2 separate regions of the Homo sapiens genome follow, and region 2 is linked to region 1. The links are contacts of gene promoters, found by promoter capture Hi-C in blood cells and fetal thymus (Javierre and others, 2016). All regions are on one chromosome and are shown on one strand. The core of a region is centred on a gene start or on the middle of the fragment in contact, and the rest is flanking DNA. Distances in the headings are between cores, read along the strand shown.

Evidence for each region. The method cuts DNA at HindIII sites, captures the fragments that hold promoters and counts their contacts. A CHiCAGO score of 5 or more calls a contact.
Region 2: a fragment that was not itself captured here is called in contact with the fragment with the promoter of KCTD19 in region 1 in 1 of 17 cell types (neutrophils); the score reaches 5.0 in neutrophils.

What each region holds. Positions count from the first base shown.
Region 1 is chr16:67,325,374-67,330,453 of GRCh38, forward strand. KCTD19 (potassium channel tetramerization domain containing 19) reads right to left here and starts at 1,368. Exons shown (of 16, transcript NM_001100915.3): 1 at 1,332-1,368. The coding sequence starts at 1,334. LRRC36 (leucine rich repeat containing 36) reads left to right here and starts at 1,442. Exons shown (of 14, transcript NM_018296.6): 1 at 1,442-1,559. The coding sequence starts at 1,490. RefSeq lists a silencer at 1,335-1,484. The HindIII fragment of the contact is 1,968 bases long and covers 373-2,340 here.
Region 2 is chr16:68,208,603-68,213,499 of GRCh38, forward strand. The region is part of intron 9 of NFATC3 (nuclear factor of activated T cells 3); the gene reads left to right. It also overlaps the pseudogene RPS12P27. Among named protein-coding and RNA genes, the nearest start is that of MIR6773, 22 kb to the right of the region's middle. RefSeq lists an enhancer at 2,542-2,611. The HindIII fragment of the contact is 3,143 bases long and covers 483-3,625 here.

The DNA.
Region 1 (5,080 bases), core at 118-2,617:
GGCTTTATTTTATTTTATTTTATTTTATTTTGTTTTATTTTTGTATTTTTAGTAGAGATGGGGTTTCACTGTGTTAGCCAGGATGGTCTCGATCTCCTGACCTCGTGATCCACATGCTTCGGCCTCCCAAAGTGCTGGGATTACAGACGTGAGCCACCACGCCCAGCCCACCCTCTTTTCTTGTTAAGGATAGGGTGTGACAAGAGGGTCCTGGCTCCTTCTTACATACATGTCCCATCCACAGGTGGGCTCTTAAGTGCCTGCTGGAGTGAGGGTAGGGGTTAGGGATGCGGCTGTTCTTTCCCAAAGACTACTCAGGGGCTGGTTAGTGCAGAGCTATCGCAGCCTGGCGACAGCCCTCAGTCACAGGCAAGCTTAGGGGAACCTGTGGTGCTTGAAAGACAAAAGGCTTCTTGCCGGACTGACTTCAGGAAACGGGGTAGCCCTAAAGCAGTCATCCCCACCCCATTACAAAGAGCTTCTCTCTTTCCCACGCTGATCCTTCTCCCCCGAAGAAGCTCCGTCCAAGTAAATTTCTTACCTTTTTTTTTTTTTTTTTTTTGAGACAAGGTCTGGCTCTGTCACTCAGGTCGCCCAGGCTGGAGTGCAGTGGTGCAATCTCGGTTCACTGCAACCTCCACCTCCCGGGTTCAAGCGATTCTCCTGCCTCAGCCTCCCGAGTAGCTGGGACTACAGGCCGTGCCACCACACCCGGCTAATTTTTGTATTTTTAGTAGAGATGGGGTTTCACCATGTTGGCCAGGCTGGTCTTGAACTCTTGACCTCAGGTGATCCGCCCACCTCGGGCTCCCAAAGTGCTGGGATTACAGGCGTGAGACACCGCGCCCAGCCCGTCCAAGTCAATTTCTAGAGCTAGAACTTCCTCATGCTCTAAAGACAGGACCCCAACTCCTCAGAGCCAGGATTCCCAACCTTTCAGATCTGGAGCTCCCCATCATGCCTTAGAGTTCTGTCCCCACGCTCCAATCCTTCAGATTTGGATCTCCCCTTCACACACACCCTCGCCTTGCCCCAAAGTCAGCATCCCCCAGCGCTGAGATATGAAGACCACCCCGTCAAAGGGGCACACGCCCAGCCCTCAGAACCGGAGTCCCCCACATCCTCAGAGCCAGAACACTTCATCCCTCAAGACAGAGCGTTATTCTAACTCCTCAGAGCCAGCCCCCCAAATCCTTCCCGGCTGGGGGCCCCTCGCTCTCTCCCATGCCCCAGAGCCAGGTCTCGAACCACTTAGCCCCAATCCTTGGCCACAGCGGCCCCCATTCGCCGCTTTGGTGCTTTTGGCGCCCCCGCCAGAGCGGGCTCCGTACCATGGTCGCGGCTCCAGCAGCGGGCGGGCGGGCTTGTGACCCGGCCAATAACGGTTCCCGGGGTCGCGGCGGCGCGCGCGCGGGGGGCGGGGCAGTGGGCGGGGCCTGGCGTGCGCCGGGTGGTCTCGCGGGCGGTGGCAGGTGAGCGGCGGGCGGGGATGGCGGAGCAATGGGAGCTGGACGAGGAAGGCATTCGCCGCCTGGGGGCGCTGACGCTGGAGCAGCCGGGTAGGGTCTGGCCGGGAGGGTGTGGACTGGGAACGTAGGGTCAGAAGCTGTGGAAAGAAAACTGAAGTGGAAGGCGGGGAACCTGAGATAGAGGCGAGGGAACCACAGAGAAGCGGTACCTGAGGCTGGGGGGCGGGGGGATAACTTGAGGCAGAAGGTTAGAGGGAGGTGGAGGTGGAGGAACTGAAGTAACGGGAGGGTGTGGGGCAGAGCCCGAGGAATTGAGAGAGAAGAGGGGAGTGTGAAGTAGGGAAGGAGAAACAAGGTTAACAGGGGACCCTGCCGCAGGTGACAGAACTGCGGGGGGCGGTGGCTGACCGCTGTAATCCCAGCACTTTGGGAGGCGGAGGCGGGTGGATCACCTGAGCGTGGCCAACATGGTGAAACCCCGTCTCTACTAAAATACAAAAATTAGCCCGGCGTGGTGGTTCAAGTCTATAATCCCAGCTACTCGGGAGGCTGAGGCAGGAGAATCGCTTGAACCCGGGAGGCGGAGGTTGCAGTTAGCCGAGATCGCACCACTGCACTGCAGCCTGGGCGACAGAGCGAGACTCCATCTCAAAAATAATAATAATAAATAAAATAAATAAATAATAAAATGTCTATTAGACATCCAAGTGTAAGGTACCTAGTAGGCAGTTGGATATATGGGTCTGGACCTCAGAGGAGAGGTCAGGGTTAGAGATGAAAATTTTGGAGACATTAGCAATAGGTGGTATTTAAAGCTACGGGAGTGGATGAACTCAGCTAAGGAGAGAATGTCGATGGAGAAGTGAAAGAAAGCTTAAGACTCAACCTTGGAATATTTCAGTGTTTAGAGGTTGTATAGAGGAAGAATGTGGTATCTTGGAATTTGAGAAGGGGTAGTGTATCGAGCAAGCAATGGCCAACTGTGCCAAATGCTATTGACAGGCTGAGCAACTTAAATGCAGAGTGTCTGTTAGATTTAGCAACATGGAACTTACTGGTGACCTTGACAGAGGGAGTTTTGGGAGGGTGGGGAGGAGGGAAACCAGATTGGAGTGGGATGAAAAAGGGAAATGATATTTGAGGGGAAGAGACAGTGAAAGTAAGAACTTTTGCTGAAAATTTTAGCTGTAAAAGAGACTGCAGAAATAGATGGTAGCTGAAGCGTATGATGTGCAGTCAAGAACAGAACAGGAAGGATATACTAGAGCATGTCGGTAGTCTAATGATTAATTTGGTAGAGGGGGGAAATATGTAATATTTACTCATTTTGACTGTTAAAATAATTCAATTAATTTATTCTGTGGGTAATATAATAATTGTACAGTGAGGGCCAGGCGCGGTGGCTCACGACTGTAATCCCAGCACTCTGGGAGGCCGAGGCGGGCGGATCACGAGTCAGGAGATCGAGACCATCCTGGCTAACACAGTGAAACCCCGTCTCTACTAAAAATACAAAAAAAATTAGCGGAGCATGGTGGCGGGCGCCTGTAGTCCCAGCTACTCGGGAGGCTGAGGCAGGAGAATGGCGTGAACCCAGGAGGCGGAGCTTGCAGTGAGCCGAGATCGCGCCACTGCACTCCAGCCTGGGTGACAGAGTGAGACTCCGTCTCGAAAAAATAAATAAATAAAATAAAAATTGTACAGTGAGAAGAAAGTCTTTACTCCCCCATCCCCGTCTCATAGGCCTAGTTCCCCTTCCTAAAGGCAATTACTGTTACCAGTATCTTGGATAGTTTTCCAGAAATATTCTCTACATATATAAGCATTTATCACTTATTTTATAATTTTATATTATGGCAATTTTCAAATATATACAAGAGTAGAGATAACAGAATAATGAACTCTATTAGCCTACCTCAACAGTTATCATCAATTCATGGCCAAGCTTCTTTCACGTATACCTCACCTATCCTCCACCCACCTCCAACCCCCTACACTGACTATTTTGAAGCAAATTCCAAGTATGTGATTTCCTCCATAAATATTTCAGTAGTATTTTATTTATTTATTGTTTTTATTATTTTTCAGATAGAGTTTTGCTCTGTCACCCAGGCTCTAGGGCAGTGGCGTGATCTCGGCTCACTGTAATCTCCACCTCCGCATTTCAAGCGATTCTTCTGCCTCAGCCTCCCAAGTAGCTGGGACTACAGGCACCCGCCACCACGCCCGGCTAATTTTGTATTTTCAGTAGTGACAGGGTTTTGCCATGTTGGCCAAGCTGGTCTTGAACTCCTGACCTCAAGTGATCCACCCACCTCAGCCTCCCTAAGAGTTGGGATTATAAGTGCAAGCCACAGCACCTGGCCAGTATGTATTTTTAAAAGCTAAGATTACTTTAAAAAAAAGTCACATATGCAACCTAAAAAATTTAACAGTAATTTCTTTTTTTGGTTTTGTTTTGTTTTTGAGATGGAGTCTGGCTCTGTTGCCCAGGCTGGAGTGCAGTGGCATGATCTCAGCTCACTGCAACCTCTGCCTCCAGGGTTCAAGCAATTCTCCTGCCTCAGCTTCCTGAGTAGCTGGGATTTCAGGCATGTGCCACCATGCCTGGCTAATTTTTTTGTATTTTTAGTAGAGACGGGGTTTCACCATGCTAGCCAGGCTAGTCTTGAACTCCTGACCTCAAGTGACTCAGCCTCCTAAAGTGAACAGTGATTTCTTGATATCATGAAATATCTAACTAGTGTTCTTATTTCCCCAGTTGTCCTATAATTTTTTAAAATTAGAATCCATGGCCGGGTGCGTTGGCTCATGCCTGTAATCCCAGCACTTTGGGAGGCCAAGGTGGGTGGATCACTTGAGGCCAGGAGTTCAAGACCAGCCAGGCCAACATGGTGAAACCCCATCTCTATTAAAAATACAAAAATTAGCTGGACATGGTGGCTCACACCTGTAATCCCAACTACTTGGGAGGCTGAGGCAGGAGAATCGCTTGAACCCGGGAGACGGAGGTTGTAGTGAGCTGAGATCGCGTCACTGCACTCCAGCTTGGGTGGCAGAGCAAGTCTCCATCTAAAAAATAAAATAAAATAAGAATCCGTATATGGTCCATATATTGCAATTGGTTGATGTATGTCTTAAGTCTTATTTGATCTGTAGGCTCCCCATTTTTTTTCCCTCGCATTTTCAATTGTTTTTGAAGAAACTGGCTTTGAAAGAGTTTACTATAACCTGAACTTTGCTCATTGCATTCCTAAGATGTTAAACATTTTCCCGTGTTCCCTGTACTTCCTATGAATTGGTAGTTAGATGAGGCTTAATCAGATTCAGGTTGGATTTTTTTTTTTTCACAAGACGATTTCATAGGTAATGGTGTATGTTTATGTTAGGAAGTATATGGTGCCTAGTGTTCTTTCTTTTCGTGATATCAGCCACTGAATATGATTACCTAAGTTAATTCATTAGGGATTGCAAAATGGTAATTGTCTATTTCTTTCATTTTTCTTCATTAACTGTAATACTTCTATAAAGAGAAATTTCCTCACATCAACTGTTTGCTTATCCTGAGGTACAGTTTGTATAGGAAAGGCAGCATAAAAGCTTGATTTGTT
Region 2 (4,897 bases), core at 804-3,303, 880 kb after region 1:
GCCTGTAATCCCAGCTATTTGTGGGACTGAGGCAGGAGAATCGCTTGAACCTGGGAGACAGAAGTTGGAGTGAACCAAGATTATGCCACTGCACTCCAGCCTGAGACTCCGTCTCAAAAACAAACCAAAAAAAAAAACCCCAAAACAAGAATTGTTTTCTTAATTTTTTTTGGACCTTTCATTCCAAGTATATAGAAGTACAACTGAATATTGTGTGTTGATTCTATATTCTGCCACTTTGGTGACTTTATTTGTTAGTGCTAACATTTTTTTGTCTGTGTGGATTCTTTAGAGTTTTATGTTTATACTATCATGCCATTCGTGAATAGAGATAATTTTCTCTCTTCCTTTTTAATTTGGATGGGCTTTATGTATTTATTTATTTTTCTAACCTAATTGCTCTGGCTAGAACTTCTAGTGGTAGGCTAGTAGAAGTGGTGAAAGAGTGGGCATCTTTGCTTTGTTTGTGATCTTAGGGGGAAAGCTTTTGTTCTTTGTTGATAATGATAGGAACTAACAGTTTTTCATATATGGCCTTTTTCATATTGAGGAAATTCCTTCTATTCTTTGTTTATTGAATGTTTTCATCTTGAAAGAGCATTGAATTTTGATAAATGAGTTGGGCACGGTGGCTCACGCCTGTGATACCAGCACTTTGGGAGGCTGAGGCGGGCAGATAGCTAGAACCCAGGAGGTGGAGGCTGCAGTGAGCCGTGATTGGGATGCTACTGCACTCCAGCCTGGGCAACAGAGTGAGACCGTCTCAAAGAAAAAGAGTTCTTTCCCTGCCACTGCTGAGTTGAGTGGAGGCAGAGGCTTGGGTGCATTCAAGATTCAGCTTCACCCGTAGACCACCACCATGGCCACGGAAGGTGTTGCTGCTGGAGGTGTGGTGGCTGTTAATACTGCTTTACAAGAGGTGTTGAAGACTGTCCTCACCCATGATGGCCTAGCACGTGGAATTTGCAAAGCTGCTGAAGGGTCAGGCCCATCTTTTGTGTGTTTGCATCCAACTGTGATGAGCCTATGTCAAGTTCATAGAGGTTCTTTGTGCTGAACACCAAATCAACCTACTTAAGGTTGATGACAAGAAGCTAGGGGGAATGGTTAGGTCTCTGTAAAATTGACAGAGAGGGGAAACCCCGTAAAGTGGTTCGTTGCAGTTGTGTAGTAGTTGAAGTACTTCAAATGCAAGAAATGAACGAATAAAACTCTGGCTAACCCCCCTGCCCCCCAACACACACACAGACACACACACACACACACTCACAGTCACACTCACTCTGGGCATGTTGGCTCAATCCTGTAGTCCTAGCACTTTGGGAGGCCGAGGTGGGCAGATTGCTCGAGCCCAAGAGTTCAAGACCAGCCTGGGCAACATGAAATCCCATCTCTGCTAAAAATACAAAAAATGGCCAGGTGCAGTGGCTCGCGCCTGTAATCCCAGCACTTTGGGAGGCCGAGGTGGGCGGATCACGAGGTCGGGACATTGAGACCATCCTGGCTAACACAGTGAAACTCCATCTCTACTGAAAATACAAAAAAATTAGCTGGGCATGGTGGCGGGCACCTGTAGTCCCAGCTACTCGGGAGGCTGAGGCAGGAGAATGGCGTGAACCCGGAAGGCGGAGCTTGCAGTGAGCCAAGATCATGCCACTGCGCTCCAGCCTGGGCGACAGAGTGAGATTCCTTCTCAAAAAAAAAAAAAGAAAAAAAAAAAGAATACAAAAAATTAGCCAGGTGCTGTGGTCCCAAATACTTGGGAAGCTGAAGTGGGAGGATTGCTTGAGCCTGGGAGGTAGAGGCTGCAGTGAGCCATTATTGTGCCACTGCACACCAGCCTTGGTGACAGAGTGACACCTTGTCTCAAAAAAAATAAAAGAATTTTTACAAACACTTTTCTGCATCTATCGAGATGATCATGTGGTTTTTAAATTAATTTTTGTAGAGGTAGGGTCTTGCCATGTTGCCCATGCCAGTCAGGAGTATGTTTTTTTTTCTTTTGTTCAACTAATTTGGCATATTACTTTAATTGATTTTCATTTGTTGAATCATCCTTGCATTCTGGGAATAAAACTCACTTGGTCTTAATGTATCATCCTTTTAATATGCTGCTGAATTGTGTTAGTGTTTTGTTGATTTTTGCATCTATATTCATAAAGAATATTCTGTAGTTTTTTTGTTTTTTTGTTTGTTTGAGATGGAGTCTTGCTCTGTCGCTCAGGCAGGAATGCAGTGGTGTGACCTCGGCTCACTGCAACCTCTGCCTCCCCAGTTCAAGCGATTCTTCTGCTTCAGCCTCCCGAGTAGCTGGGACTACAAGTGCGCACCACCATGCCCGGCTAATTTTTTTGTATTTTTAGTAGAGATGGGGTTTCACCATATTGGCCAGGCTGGTCTCGAACTCCTGACCTCGTGATCCACCCACCTTAGCCTCCCAGGTGTAAGCCACTGTGCCTAGCCTTTTCTTTTCTTATAGTATCTTTTTCTGGCTTTGTGTCAGAGTAAATTCTGGCCTCATAATGAGTTAGGAAGTGTTTCCTTTTCTTTAATCTTTTTAAGAGTTTCAAAAGAATCGAAACTCTTTTTTCTTTGTTTTGTTTTGAGATGGAGTCTCGCTCTGTCGCCAGGCTGGAGTGCAGTGGCGCGATCTCAGCTCACTGCAACCTCCACCTCCCGGGTTCACGCCATTCTCCTGCCTCAGCCTCTCGAGTAGCTGGGATTACAGGCACTCACCACTATGCCCAGCTAATTTTTGTATTTTTAGTAGAGACGGGGTTTCACCATGTTGGCCAGGATGGTTTCTATCTCCTGACCTTGTGATCCTCCCGCCTCGGCCTCCCAAAGTGCTGGGATTACAGGCGTGAGCCACTGTGCCCGGCTGAAACTCTTCTTCTGTAAATGTTTTTTGTTGTTGTTGTTGTTGTTGTTGTTGTTTGAGTCGGAGTCTCACCCTGTTGCCCAGTCTGGAGTGCAATGGCATGATCTCAGCTCACTGCAACTTCCGCCTCCCAGGTTCAAGCAATTCTCCTGCCTCAGCTTCCTGAGTAGCTGGGATTACAGGCATCTACCACACGCCCAGCTAATTTTTGTGTTTTTAGTAGAGACGGGGTTTCACCATGCTGGCCAGGCTGGTCTCGAACTCCTGACCTCAGGTGATCTACCCGCCTTGGCCTCCCAAAGTGCTGGGATTACAGGCATGAGGCACCGTGCCCGGCACACTTTTGTAAATGTTTGGTCAAAGTTCTTGTGATCAGGAGAGATGAATGAGGTATATTTTGGAGCTCACGAAAGTGCTTCAAGGAACTAGAAGGATTTCTGGAGCACTGCAAGTTTCTGTAAAGCACAATCTGAAAGTACCACTGAATTCATCCACTCACAAAAGCTCCCATAGTGTGTGTTGGCCTCTTGCTTTGTTCCTGGGATGCTTTCTTATGATTTTTATGCTGCTGTACCTGTAATCACATGTTCTATACCTTCAAGTCTGTTTTGGAGGATTCAGTTGTGGAGATTGGGAACCCCCAGAAAGAGTATTTTGATATTTTCAGTATTTAAAATACTTTGCACACACTGTAATCTTTAAATCACCTCTGAAAACTAGGTGAGTGATCTCAAATAATAAACAAGCTTAAGTCAGAAAAATTTTGCTTAACCAAAGGATTTCTGGATTTTGTTTTGTTTTGACCCCTATAGTGAGGGTGCATTTTGTACAGATTGACTCTTCCTTTGTTTTTCTTTTTTTATCTGCTTAAAAGGAAGGTATTAGTTAGTGTTCATAGAGACTACATGCAGATTTTTCCCTTCTAAGTAGGTTAGGTCCTTTTACTTGAAGTTGTACAACAGAGGCCAAGAATAATTCCTTATAGGCAAAAAGATGAGAGTTGTTGTTGTTGTTGTTGTTTGAGTCGGAGTCTCACTATTTCGTTATTGTGTTTTTGACTCTTGGGGCATCTGAATGCTTTAGCCAGTACTGCAAAACTGACCAGTGGTGACTCTTCTTTTGTGCAGTGACTTTCAAACATTTTTGACAGCTTCCTACAATAAAATACAAGGATTATGTTGTGACCCAGTACACAAAAAATACATACATATACAACTAATGTTAAAGTCTCACAAACCAATTCTTAACCTTTATTAGAGGGAATGCAGCCTGCTATCTTCTATTTTGTTCTATTTCTTTCTCTTTTTTTTTTTTTTTTTTTTTTGAGATGGAGTCTCACTCTGTTGCCCAGGCTGAAGTGCAGTGGCGTGATCTTGGCTCACTGCAAGCTCTACCTCCCAGGTTCACGCCATTCTTCTGCCTCAGCCTCCCAAGTAGCTGGGACTACAGGCGCCCGCCACCACGCCTGGCTGATTTTTTTTTTTTTTTTGTATTTTTAGTAGAGACAGGGTTTCACCGTGTTAGCCAGGATGGTCTCGGTGTCCTCACCTCATGATCCACCCGCCTCAGCCTCCCAAAGTGCTGGGATTACAGGTGTGAGCCACCATGCCCGGCCTGTTTCTTTCTCTTCTTTAAAATACTAGTTTCAGGGGCCGGGTGCAGTGGCTCACGCCTATAATCCCAGCACTTTGGGAGGCCGAGGTGGGTGGATCACAAGGTCAGGAGATCAAGACCATCCTGGCTAAGAAGGTGAAACCCTGTCTCTACTAAAAATACAAAAAATTAGCCGGGCGTGGTGGCGGGCACCTGTGGTCCCAGGTACTCAGGAGGCTGAGGCAGGAGAATGGCGTGAACTCAGGAGGTGGAGCTTGCAGCGAGCCAAGATGGTGCCACTGCACTCCAGCCTGGGCGACAGAGCAAGACTCTGTCTCAAAAAATAAATAAATAAATAAATAAAAATTAAAAAAAATAAAAATTAAAAAAAAAATACTAGTTTCAACTTGCTGAATTGATTTC